Regions from separate parts of the Homo sapiens genome. Here all the other regions are linked to region 1. The links are contacts of gene promoters, found by promoter capture Hi-C in human tissues and cell types (Jung and others, 2019). All regions are on one chromosome and are shown on one strand. The core of a region is centred on a gene start or on the middle of the fragment in contact, and the rest is flanking DNA. Distances in the headings are between cores, read along the strand shown. Region 1 holds the start of MC4R (melanocortin 4 receptor). Region 2 has its middle 73 kb from the start of MC4R. Region 3 has its middle 89 kb from the start of MC4R.

Region 1 (4,798 bases), core at 1,648-4,147:
CAATAATTTAAAAAAATCCAATTAAAAATGAGCAAAGGATTTGAATAGGCATTTCTCCAAAGATTATTACACAAGTAACTGGTAAGGATGTAAAATCATCTTCAGTATCATTAGGCATTAGGGAAATGAAAATCAAAAGTATAATGAGAGTTCACTTCATATCCTTATGATGGCTAAAATAAAAAAGATGGACAATAGCAAGTGCTAGCAAGAATGTGAAGAGATTTGAACCCTCATACATTGCTAACTGGAAATGTCAAATGGTGCAGCCACTTCAGAAAACAGTTTGGCAGTTCCTCAAAACAAGAAACAGAGTTATCATATGATTCAGCAATTCCATTCCTGGTTGTGTATCCAAAAGAATTGAAATCATCTGTCACATAAGAATTTGTCCATAAATATTCCTAGCAGCATAATTCGTGATAGCCAAAACTGGAAATAACCCAAATGTTCCTCAACTGATGAATACATTTAAAAATATAATGTATACAGCCAGGTGCAGTGGTTCATGCCTGTAATCCCAGCACTTTGGGAGGCCGAGGCGGGCGGATCATGAGGTCAGGAGATCGAGACCACGGTGAAACCCCGTCTCTACTAAAAATACAAAAAATTAGCAAGGTGCGGTGGCGGGCACCTGTAGTCCCAGCTACTTGGGAGGCTGAGGCAGGAGAATGGCGTGAACCCAGGAGGCGGAGCTTGCAGTGAGCTGAGATTGCACCACTGCACTCCAGCCTGGGTGACAGAGCGAGACTCCGTCTCAAAAAAAAAAAAAAAAAAAATATATATATATATAAATGTATACATACAATGGAATATTACTCAGCCATAAAAACAAATCAAAACTGGGCACAGTGGCTCATGCCTGTAATCTCAGCACTTGGAGAAACCGAGATGGGAATATCGTTTGAGCCCAAGAGTTTGAGACCAGCCTGGACAACATAATGAGATTCAATCTCTACAAAATTATTTTTTAAAAGCTAGCTGGGTGTGGAGGTACATTTAGTTCCAGCTACTCAGGAGGCTGAAGTAGGAGGATCACTTGAACCTAGTGAGCCATGATCATGCCACTGCACTCCAGCCTGGGTGACAGAGCAAGATCCTGTTTTAATTTTTTAAAAATCAAATTCTGATTCACATTATAGTGTAAGCAAACCTTGAAAATATTATGCTACATGAAAACAGTGAGCCACAAAAGGCCACATATTGCATTATTTCAATCATATAAAATGTCTAAAATAGGCACATTGATAGAGACAGAAAGTAGATTAGCAGTTCCTAGAGGATAAGGAAAGGGTAAAATGGGGAGCAACTGCTAATGGGATAATGAAAATGTTTTAGAAATAGAAAGTGATGATTATGGCACAACTCTGTGAATATATTCCCCCAAAAATCCATTTAATTACTAAAGAGGTGATTTTTTTTGGTATGTGAATTATATGTCAATTTTTAAAAAGAGAAAAAATAAGGCAAGAGGAAGGTAAGATTATTTCCAGCTCATGATGTTCAGGAAAGCCCATTCCAGCATTTTACAATATACAGATGATTAGGCATTCAGAAATACAGGGGAAGGGAGTTGGAGGTGTGAGTTCTGCTCTGTGCAATCATTCAAGAGACAGGCTCCTTTCATGATATGGTCCTGCCACCTGTAACATGAGATTTCAAAGACAGGAGAGAAAACTTGTGTAAAATTATGAAAGAGCTAATGCGATGAGCCCCACTGTCAACATGCCATTAGCTAGAATTTAGTCATAAGGTCCTACCCAATTCCAAAGGTGGATGGAAGACGTTAATTTATCTCAATGCTCAGGAACAATACTTAGTATTGTCTCTGTCACAAAAGGAAAGAGGATACATTCCCAACCTAAGTAACTGAGATTCAGAATTAACCCTGAAATAAGCAGCTACAAACTATAGAGCACTAAAACCAAAAATAATCATAGAAGAAAAGAATATACAAAATTTTGTATAATCTGTTGTTCAGTTAATTTGGAAAGTAACTTTGCTGCCATCTTTCAAACCACCTTAAGCAAAATATTCAGAAACTTCAATAACTAACTAGTATCACCAGTCTTGGCTTGATAAGTAAAGTTACTAGGTATTTGTCGGTTCAACTTACGATACGTTAAACTCTGGAGGTTTAAAAAAAAGTTGCTTAAAAAAAAAAAACAGAATGCAGCTTATTATTTTCCTGAGTTCAGTGTAAGCATAGTTACATTAATGCCGTATGAGTTTAAAATATTGTAAATAAAAAGCACCTTTTTTCAGCTATAACACAAACTCCTCAATAGAGAAATATGGGATATTAGTGCATTAAAATCAACCCCTTTTGAACCCATTCATAATTTATAGCTACCTACATAGTTCTTCCAGCCATACCATGTCTATCTGTATCATTAAATATCCTCTCTGTTTTTCAGGTATTTTAACTGAACCACTACTGGCTGGGTTCTTAATAAAAACAAAAAATTAAGAAGGTAAATAAATTCAGTATCCTAGCCAAAAAGCAGAGTATCTGTTTCAGGAACATAAGACAGTATACTTTCCATTTCATTTTACACACACACATGATGTCTTTTACATAAGAATGAACCTGGCTGCCTGAAGATAGCTTGTTTTGATATCACAGAATGGCCTCTAGGGATCAAGTTGTTTCCCTTGAAAACTTAAAAAGGGAAATTCAGTCTCTTATCCGGCTTGCTTCTCGACTTCAGACTTCAGGAGCTTCTGCATCTGAATCTGTGTCACCCTGCAATTTGTGTCTCTGAAACATAATCCTGTCTCACAGACTCCCATTGCATTGGGATTGGTCAGAAGGAAGCAGAGGAGGAGCCACCGTGAACATGTTTTTTTTCTCTCCACACATCATAAAAATCAGCAGCTGGCGCCTACAGCCCCTAACACTCAAAGCAACGCTCAGGCTGGAAACAGAAGCTTCCGAGAGGCAGCCGATGTGAGCATGTGCGCACAGATTCGTCTCCCAATGGCATGGCAGCTTCAAGGAAAATTATTTTGAACAGACTTGAATGCATAAGATTAAAGTTAAAGCAGAAGTGAGAACAAGAAAGCAAAGAGCAGACTCTTTCAACTGAGAATGAATATTTTGAAGCCCAAGATTTTAAAGTGATGATGATTAGAGTCGTACCTAAAAGAGACTAAAAACTCCATGTCAAGCTCTGGACTTGTGACATTTACTCACAGCAGGCATGGCAATTTTAGCCTCACAACTTTCAGACAGATAAAGACTTGGAGGAAATAACTGAGACGACTCCCTGACCCAGGAGGTTAAATCAATTCAGGGGGACACTGGAATTCTCCTGCCAGCATGGTGAACTCCACCCACCGTGGGATGCACACTTCTCTGCACCTCTGGAACCGCAGCAGTTACAGACTGCACAGCAATGCCAGTGAGTCCCTTGGAAAAGGCTACTCTGATGGAGGGTGCTACGAGCAACTTTTTGTCTCTCCTGAGGTGTTTGTGACTCTGGGTGTCATCAGCTTGTTGGAGAATATCTTAGTGATTGTGGCAATAGCCAAGAACAAGAATCTGCATTCACCCATGTACTTTTTCATCTGCAGCTTGGCTGTGGCTGATATGCTGGTGAGCGTTTCAAATGGATCAGAAACCATTGTCATCACCCTATTAAACAGTACAGATACGGATGCACAGAGTTTCACAGTGAATATTGATAATGTCATTGACTCGGTGATCTGTAGCTCCTTGCTTGCATCCATTTGCAGCCTGCTTTCAATTGCAGTGGACAGGTACTTTACTATCTTCTATGCTCTCCAGTACCATAACATTATGACAGTTAAGCGGGTTGGGATCATCATAAGTTGTATCTGGGCAGCTTGCACGGTTTCAGGCATTTTGTTCATCATTTACTCAGATAGTAGTGCTGTCATCATCTGCCTCATCACCATGTTCTTCACCATGCTGGCTCTCATGGCTTCTCTCTATGTCCACATGTTCCTGATGGCCAGGCTTCACATTAAGAGGATTGCTGTCCTCCCCGGCACTGGTGCCATCCGCCAAGGTGCCAATATGAAGGGAGCGATTACCTTGACCATCCTGATTGGCGTCTTTGTTGTCTGCTGGGCCCCATTCTTCCTCCACTTAATATTCTACATCTCTTGTCCTCAGAATCCATATTGTGTGTGCTTCATGTCTCACTTTAACTTGTATCTCATACTGATCATGTGTAATTCAATCATCGATCCTCTGATTTATGCACTCCGGAGTCAAGAACTGAGGAAAACCTTCAAAGAGATCATCTGTTGCTATCCCCTGGGAGGCCTTTGTGACTTGTCTAGCAGATATTAAATGGGGACAGAGCACGCAATATAGGAACATGCATAAGAGACTTTTTCACTCTTACCCTACCTGAATATTGTACTTCTGCAACAGCTTTCTCTTCCGTGTAGGGTACTGGTTGAGAATATCCATTGTGTAAATTTAAGCCTATGATTTTTAATGAGAAAAAATGCCCAGTCTCTGTATTATTTCCAATGTCATGCTACTTTTTTGGCCATAAAATATGAATCTATGTTATAGGTTGTAGGCACTGTGGATTTACAAAAAGAAAAGTCCTTATTAAAAGCTTAACAATGTCTCCTTCGTGTTATTCATAAGCATTGGACACTTTGCGTGCTTTCGTAACATAGAAATCAGAGCCTCATTAAACATATTCTAATAAATGCTTTATTATATTATATTATCCACCATTGAAATGTAGAGAGTTCATTCTAGCAGTTAAGGGAAAATATTTAAAGAATAGATGTATAATCATTTTTAAAAATA
Region 2 (4,570 bases), core at 1,713-4,212, 72 kb before region 1:
AGGAGATGCTTGCACCAGGATTCCTATATACTCTACAGAACCATGAGGAAAATAAACACATTGTCTCTATAAATTACCCAGCCCCATACTAACACAGTGAACTTATTTAGAAATAGGGTCTTTAAAGATGTAATCAAGTTAAGAAAGGGTCATACCCAATTAGAGTAGGACCTCATCCAACATGACTGGTGTCCTAATAAGAAAAATATAACAGGGGAGGGGATGGCTAATTAGAAGCAGCTGTAGTCTGCCGCTTTCACAAAACAGTGAGTGTACACTGTACCTTTGACTGAGGTATCCAGATTCTCACACTGGGACTAAGTAGGCAGACGGCTTGACCCACAGAGACTGAGGAAAAACAGGGTGGGGTGATGGCTTACCTGGGAGCATCAGGAAGCCATGGAGTCCCCACACACAGCCAAGGGTGGTGGTGAGTCTTTGTGCCACCCTGCCCAGGAAGCCACGCCTTCCCTATGGATCTTTGCAACCTGTGTATCAGGATATCCTCTCCTGAGCCCAGGTCACCAGGGCCTTGGTCCAAAGCATAGAGCTTTGTGGAGTCTTGGTGGAGCAGCCGCTTGTTCACTCGGGCATGGAGGAAAATCCAGGAGTTTTGCATTCTCCAGTCCTGGGAATTCCGGCAAGGAAGAGGTCCCAGGCATTCCCCTAAAAAGGGGGCTCAATACAGGGAGGCATCTTCCTGTTGGACTCCACTCCCATGGGGCCTCACAAGACCCACTGGCTTAGAATTCTACCCAGCAAGCAGTGGCAGGCTGGTGACAGCGCCTGAGAGGGACTGAGTTCCAGGAAGGAGGGGCAGTTACCATATCGGCAGCTGGAGTCAGCCACTCTAGCCTGTAGGCACCTGGGACCAAAAGGAATTCCCCACAACCTACCACAGCTGCTATGCCTGATTGTGGCCAGCCTGTTTCTTTAAGTGGGAACTTGATCCATCCCTCCTCACTGGGTGGGGCCTCCCTATGGGAATTTCAGCAACTCCAGCCAGGGTTATATGAACAGAGCTATGATCTCTCCCTGGAATAGAGTCCCTGCGGGGAGCGGCAGCTGCTGTTTCTGTGGTTCAGCTGACTTAGTCTTGCTAGGCGGCTGTTTCTGGAGAGGCTGGACAGCCAGTGCAGGGCACCTCCTCTGCCAAGGGGCAGCCAGACTGCTTCTTTAAGCGAGTCCTTGATTCTATTCTTCCTGACTCTATAAGACCTCCTAAAAGGGGTCTCCAGACACCTCTTACAGGAGCATTCCAGCTGGCACCAGGTTGATGCCCCCTTGGGATAGAGCTCCCAGAGGAAGGAGCAGGCTTCCATCTTCGTTGTTTCACAGCCTTCACTGGTGATTCACACCTTCCTAGACCAAGGTGACTAGGGTCTGAAGTGACCAACAGCAAACTACAGAAGCCCTACGGAAGAGTGACCTGTTAAAAAAACATAATAATAAATAATTATAAAAAAACAGAAAGCAGCAACAACATCAACTGAAAAGACCCCACAAAAACCCCATTCAAAGGTCAGCAACCCCAAAGATCAAAGATAGCTAAGCCTACAAAGATGAGAAAGAATCAATGCAAAAATAGTGAAAACTCAAAAAGCCGGAGTGCCTCTTCTCCTCCAAATGACCACAACATCTTTCCAGCAAGGGCACAAAACTGGGCTGAGGCTGAGATGGATAAATCGACAGAAGTAGTCTTCCGAAGGTGGGTAATAATGAAATTCACTGAACTAAAGGAGCATGTTCTAATCCAATGCAAAGAAGCTAAGAATCATGATAAAACATTACAGGAGCTGATAACCAGAATAGCCAGTTAAGAGAGAAACATAACTGACCTGATAGAGCTGAAAAATACAACACGAGAACTTCACAATGCAATTACAAGTATCAATATAGCCAAATAGAACAAGCAGAGGAAAGAATCTCAGAGCCTGAAGACTATCTTTCTGAAGTAAGACAGGCAGACAAGAATAGAGAAAAAAGAATGAAGAGGAATGAACAAAATCTCTGAGAAATATGGGATTATGTAAAAAGACTGAACATATAACTGATTGGAGTACCTGAAAAACACAGGGGGAATGAAACCAAGTTGGAAAACATACTTCAGGATATCATCCAGGAGAACTACCCCAACTTAGCAACACAGGCCAACATTCAAATTCAGGAAATAAAAAGAACCCCAGTAAGATACTCCATGAGAAGACCAACCCCAAGACATATAATCATCAGATTCTCCAAGGTTGAAATGAAAGAAAAAATGTAAGGGCAGCCAGAGAAAAAGGCCAGGTCTCCTACAAAGGTAAGTCCATCAGACTAACAGCAGACCTCTCAGTGGAAACTCTATAAGCCAGAAGAGATTAGGTATTCAACATTCTTCAGAAAAAGAAATCCCAACCCAGAATTTCATATCTGGCCAAACTAAGCTTCATAAGCAAAGGAAAAATGAGATCCTTTTCAGATAAACAAATGCCAAGGGAATATGTCACCACCAGGCCTGCCTTGTAAGAACTCCTGAAAGAACCACAAAATATGGAAAGTAAAAACACTTACCAGCCACTGCAAAAGCACACTAAAGTACACAGACCAATGACACTATGAAGTAATCACATAAACAAGTCTGAAAATTAACCAGCTAGCACAATGATGGCAGGATCAAATTCTTACATAATAATAACCTTAAATGTAAATGGGCTAAATGCCCTGATTAAAAGACACAGAATGGCAAACTGGATAAAGAGTCAAGCCCCATTAGAATGCTGTCTTCAGAAGACCCATCTCACATCAAAAGACACACATAGGCTCAAAATAAAGGAATGGAGGAAAATTTACCAAGCAAATGGAAAACAGAAAAAAGTAGGGGTCATAATCCTAGTTTCCCATAAAACAGACTTTAAACCGACAAAGATCAAAAAAGACAAAGAAGGGCATTACATAATGGTAAAGGGTTCAAATCAACAAGAAGAGCTAACTATCCTAGATAAATATGCACCCAATACAAGGAGCACCTAGATTCATAAAGCAAGTTCTTAGACACCTACAAAGAGACTTAGACTCCTACATGTAACAGTGGAATTCTTTAACGGCCCACTGACAATATTAGACAGATCATTGAGAGAGAAAATTAACAAAGATATTCAGTACCTGAACTCAGCTCTGGATCAAACAGACCTGAAAGATATCTACAGAACTCTCCACCCAGGATATACATTCTTCTCATTGCCACATGGCACTTACTCCAAAACTGATCACATAATTAGAAGTAAAACACTCCTCAGCAAATGCAAAAGAACTGAAATCATAACAATCTCTCAGACTACAATGCAATAAATTAGAACTCAAGATTAACAAACTCACTCAAAACCACACAACTACATGGAAAATGGACAACTTGCTCCTGAATGACTCCTTGTTAAATAATGAAATTAAGGCAGAAATCAAGAAGTTCTTTGAAACTGATGAGAACAAAGAGACAATATACCTGACTCCCTGGGATGCAGCTAAATCAGTGTTAAGACGGAAATTTATAGCGCTAAATGCCCACATTAAAAAGCTAGAAATATCTCAATTCGACATCCTAACATCACAACAAAAATAACTAGAGAACCAAGAGCAAACAAGCCCCAAAGCTAGCAGAAGACAAGAAAAAAAAAAAACAAGATCACAGAGGAGCTGAAGGAGGTAGAGACCAAAACATCAAAATTTTTTAAATTTTGTCTTCAAAAAATCAACAAATCTAGCAGCTGTCTTTTTTGAAAAATGAAATAAAATAGATTGCTAGCTAGACTAATAAATCAGAAAAAAAGAGAAGAACCAAATAGACACAATCAGAAATGATAAGGGGGATATCACCAATGACCCCACAGAAATACAAATGACCATTAGAGAATACTATAAATGCTTCTATGTACATAAACGAGAAAATCTAGAAGAAACTGATAAATTCCTGGACACATACACCCTCCCAAGACTGAACCAGGAATAAATTAAATCCCTGAATAGAACAATAACAAGTTCTGAAATTGAGGCAGTAATAAATAGCCTACCAACCAAAAAAAGCCCAGGACCCGACAGATTTACAGCTGAATTCTACCAGAGATACAAAGAGCTGGAACCATTTTTACTCAAACTATTCCAAACAATTAAAAAGGAGGGACTCTTCCCTAACTCATTTTATGAAGCCAGCATCATTTTGATACCAAAACTTAGCAGAGATACAACAACAAAAATGAAAACTTCAGGCCAATATTCCAGATGAACATTGATGCAAAAATTCTCAATAAAATACTGGCAAACTGAATTCAGCAGCACATCAAAAAGCTTATCCACCAGGATCAAGTAGTCTTCAGCCCTGGGATGCAAAACCGGTTCAACATATACACATCAACAAATGTAATTCACCACATACATAGAACTAAAGACAAAAGCCACATGATTATCTCAATAGATGCAGAAAAGGCCTTCAATAAAATTCAACATCCCTTCCTGATAAAAACTACAATAAACTAGGTATTGAAGAAACAATTAACTATAAACTAGGTATTGAAGAAACAATTTAAAAAAAAAAAAA
Region 3 (4,539 bases), core at 853-3,352, 89 kb after region 1:
GCAGAACTCTTTATTGGCATATTACTACATAAAAATATAGAATTTTACATATTGTATAATCATTGTATATAAACACTAAACTGTTCTAATATTTTTGCATATATATATTTACATACATATGTTCATTTTATGTATCACTAGAGAGTTCAAAGAATTTAACTACTTATACTTTTAGTAATTTTTGTTTAATTAGCCACTTTATAACCTTTCTTTTTCACTTTTACATTTTTATACTTCTGCAACTTGAATTTCTTCATCGTAGCCATTTCTTATCTAATTAAAACATTGCTAAAAAAGAAAATACACAAACACGTATATAACACAGAACTTAGTCATGATAAAATTTTTTTCTATCTAAACACTAATGTTAGATTGGAATGGATGACTGAGAAAAACTGGAAGTAAACAATGGAAGTTAATCCGTTAGCTTTATTCATAAAATATTCATAACCTAGCAATCTCCAACCAGTGCCTAAAGAAATAAGGTGAATCCATTTAAAGAACAATGTTAGAGCATATTTCAGTGTACATTGATCATCATTTGCATAATGCAAATGATTGCATTATGGGTAAAAATCCTCAGATTCTGTACCTGAGATACATGTACAGTAAAAGATACATATTCTAAAAGAATAATCAACAAACACTGTGGTCTTGGAAGTTTCCCAGACAGGATGGTGGCCGAAAAGGGCCTGTGAGGAAAATATATTCAGATGGCTATTATGATCCTTCTGACTACCATTTCAGTTTTCTCCCTGTGTAGATAAAATTTATAAATAGAGAAAAATATATTTGAAGGTTTCTAATACAGTGATTTTGAAAAACATGTACTTTTCTAATATAGGAGAATCATTAGAGATATGATGTTATCTCAGTTTTCTTTTACAGTCTTAAAAAACATGATAGTGAACTGTCTGACTTACAGTCTAAATAAATACAATGAAAAAATTGACTGGCAACAGGTTATTTTTCTGAAAAACTGACATGTTACATGAACTTTACAAAATATAGCTGTTTTTCCTTTGAGTCCTCAAGGGATAGAGACATCAACTTCTTAGGCCTGTGCCCTTGAAGTAGACTTTAAGAACTGGGCATTCTGTTATTAGTATTCAGTTTCTAAAGTCATATTCTAATAGAAGTCTACTTATTCTAAAAAATACATGGAAGTCTCAATTTATTGATTCTAGCTTCTTCTGATTAACAAGGTATTATCATTGATATGAATGTCCTTCATCAGATGATCTGATGTGTACAAGATATAAATATATCCTGAAAATGGTGATAAAAGTAATCAGTCTTACTCACCACAAAGAAATCAAAATGATAATGACTCCAGAGTTAGCTGCTATAGAAATCTTTGACTACGTGTTATCTTGAAAAGAGAACTAGCACTACACAAAGAATGACATTAATTACGCCCTCTATTATAGTATCTAAATTCAAAATGACAACTTTATTTTTGCCAATAATGACAAATGTATGAGGCTTTTATTTGGTTTGTGAAGGTAGGTTCATTTATTTATGGAAACGTTAAGGTAAAAAATCTTAGGTAAGGTAATGCAAGGAACATCATAGCTAATATTGTCTGGCTCTGGAAACCTGCATCTGCAAATACAATCAATCAAGTCAGCCTTCAAAGTGGCAAGCTTTATGCACTTTGCAGAATATTCATTCCTTTAATCATTCAAACATGATTTTTCTTAAAACTAGCAAAACAGATTGCAAGGCATAATTTTGTTTTAGGAAATACCTAATAAAATGAAATCCTTATGGAAATAAACCATGACTGTTAGAAATCATTTTTAGTCTTCAATGTATAACAAGTATATGATCTTATTACAATATAAAAACAGTGAGGTTTTTACACTTGCTGTAATAACTGGACGTGTGTTTGCATTTTTATTGGCTGATTGCATGCTGGTTGTGGGAAGAAAGATTTTTCTAAAACTTTAAAGTCAAATGGTACTGCATTTATAATTTATATGTAAGCATGCTTTGTAAAAACCCAATCATGGTAGTTTATTTAGATGCTACCCCTCCAAGGTATTTCATAGAACAAGCTGAAGCAGCACTATAATTACTTTCAAAAGCAATCAGATAGGTTCCCAAGAGCAATTTTTATTGATTAAAATTATGATTTGTTGCTCTTAAAACTCCCTCGTGCTGCCCTTTTATTTTAATTTTTATTTATTGTCTTAATGCTGTCCATCAAAAAGCTCCCAATATACCCAGTATCGATTGTTTGCTCTTCTGGGCACATGCTTCCCACTCCCTCGACAGACTTTGGATTTCACCAGAATGAAGAGTCACTTTTTGTTATTTAAACCAATGGTTTCCTGCATTGTTTTCTCTAAGAGGCTTCTGTTGATATAAGTATTGATAAAAGGATTGCATGTATTTTTGTAAATAATTTTGTAAAATAATAACATTATTTCCATTTTGAACTCACAGGCAACTCTCTTGAATCAGAAGTATTCAGCAGAGAAGTGAAAAACTAAAAACTAAAATAATGATTAGAGGGGTGAATAAAAACTCAAAACGTTAGTATGTTTAGTATGCCAGCTAGGTACCCACGGCCTTTCATTTAAGATCATGCTGAACATAAACAGTTTATTTACATACATCAATCATTCGAATTGCCTTCCCGCTTGATAGGGTAGTGACCACTTTTCCCCACCTTAACTCCAATTGATAACACAAAACAATCAAAACATATTTTCAGTGGATTATGCTGAGGATTCAAATTTAGTAAACAGACACATTTTCTCAAATTAGAAACTCAGACAGAAAGAAAGTAATCCCAGATTGAAAGTTAGGAATGCAAAAACAAATGCAGAGAAGAAAAAGAGAAGCACATGGGTAAGTCTAGAATAACGCTAACTGTTTCAAGCTATCATAATAATTATTGAGAGTATTTGAAATGTGTGTAACATTATAAAATAACAATGGCACATAGGAGAAAATAAATAGAACTCACAGGTTGTTGGGTCTTTTCATTGTCTATCAAGACAAAAGTACCAATTAACTTAGACCATGATTATTAAAGAAAACAAAATAAGAGCTTTAGAATAAAAGAATAGTTTTAAAAATTATATTTTAAAGTAACGGGGAAAAGTGAAATTTTTAAAAAATATTCAATAAACCCAAAAATGTCCAGAAAAGAGAAAATGGTACACGGTACAAGAGTAACAAATAGAAAATATTAAAATGGTAGATTGAAACCCACATATGGCATTACATTGAATATGAATGGACTTAAGTGTTGCAGTTGAAAGATAAAAATATTTTTCCACACACACATACACACATGCTGTTTACAAGAGACACATCTAAAATAAAGTGAAACAGAAGAAATGAATGTAAACAGCTAGAAAAAGACACTTCATGAGAATACCAAATAAAATGCCTGAAGGAATAATGATGAAGCTTAGTAAACAGACAAATGTGGCTTTAAACAAACAGTACTATTGGAGATAAACACTTAAAAATGATATAGGTTCAATTAACCGGGAAAATATATAAATTCTAATTTTTATGCACCTAAAAATGACTTTAAAGTGACCGGGCACGGTGGCTCACGCCTGTAATCCCAGCACTTTGGGAGGCCGAGGTGGGTGGATCACCTGAGGTCGGTGGATCACCTGAGGTCAGGAGTTCAAGACCAGCCTGCTCAACATGGCGAACACTGTCTCTACTAAAAATACAAAAATTAGCCGGGTGTGGTGGTGGGCGCCTGTAATCCCAGCTACTCTGGAGGCTGAGGCGGGAGAATTGCTTGAACTCAGGAGGCGGTGAGTTCAAGCACCCCCGTGCCGAGCCGAGATCGCATCACTATACTCCAGCCTGGGGGACAAGAGTGAAACTCTGTCTCAAAAAAAAAAAAAAAATAAAGACTTTAAAGTACATAAAGCAAAATTACAGAAATTTTAATGAGCAGTAAATAAAGAAATAATATGAGATTTTAATGTATACTTATCACTGAGAAAACACAAAATACTGTAAAGATGTAGAAAATATGAATAACTAACAAGCTTGACCTGATAATCAGGTATGGACTACTTACTGTACTTAACAGCTGCAGAAAACCCAATGTTTCAGGTGCAGATAAAACATTTAGAACAAAGTGACTATATGCTGGGTCGTAGAGCAAGATCCAACAAAGAAAGACCAACAACACTGGTTGGAATTAAGTCCCAAAACTATAATAAACAAAGGAGAATGATAATGCGAAATCCTATGTATTTGGAAATAAAAAACATAATAGGCCAGGCACAGTGACTCACACCTGTAATTCCAGCACTTTGGGAGGCTGAGGCAGGCGGATCACCTGAGGTCAGGAGTTCGAGATCAGCCTGGCCAAAATGGAGAATCCTCGCCTCTACTAACAATACAAAAATTAGTTGAATGTGGTGGCACATGCGTGTTATCCCAGATACTTGGGAGGCTGAGGCAGGAGAATTGCTTGAATCCAGGAGGCAGAGGTTGCAGTGAGCTGAGGTCACGCCACTGCACTCCAGCCTGGGCGACAGAGCAAGACTC

The links. Contacts are between HindIII fragments. The study calls those that stand out against the background at their distance.
Region 2: a contact is called between a fragment that was not itself captured here and the fragment with the promoter of MC4R in region 1, in 2 of the 25 tissues and cell types used here (hippocampus and thymus).
Region 3: a fragment that was not itself captured here is called in contact with the fragment with the promoter of MC4R in region 1 in 2 of the 25 tissues and cell types used here (bladder and thymus).

The regions. Positions count from the first base shown.
Region 1 is chr18:60,370,874-60,375,671 of GRCh38, reverse strand. MC4R (melanocortin 4 receptor) reads left to right here and starts at 2,897. Exons shown (of 1, transcript NM_005912.3): 1 at 2,897-4,610. The coding sequence starts at 3,323. The coding sequence ends at 4,321. The HindIII fragment of the contact is 8,670 bases long and covers 1-3,765 here.
Region 2 is chr18:60,443,444-60,448,013 of GRCh38, reverse strand. No RefSeq gene overlaps it. Among named protein-coding and RNA genes, the nearest start is that of MC4R, 73 kb to the right of the region's middle. The HindIII fragment of the contact is 3,517 bases long and covers 1,204-4,570 here.
Region 3 is chr18:60,281,190-60,285,728 of GRCh38, reverse strand. No RefSeq gene overlaps it. Among named protein-coding and RNA genes, the nearest start is that of MC4R, 89 kb to the left of the region's middle. The HindIII fragment of the contact is 3,254 bases long and covers 476-3,729 here.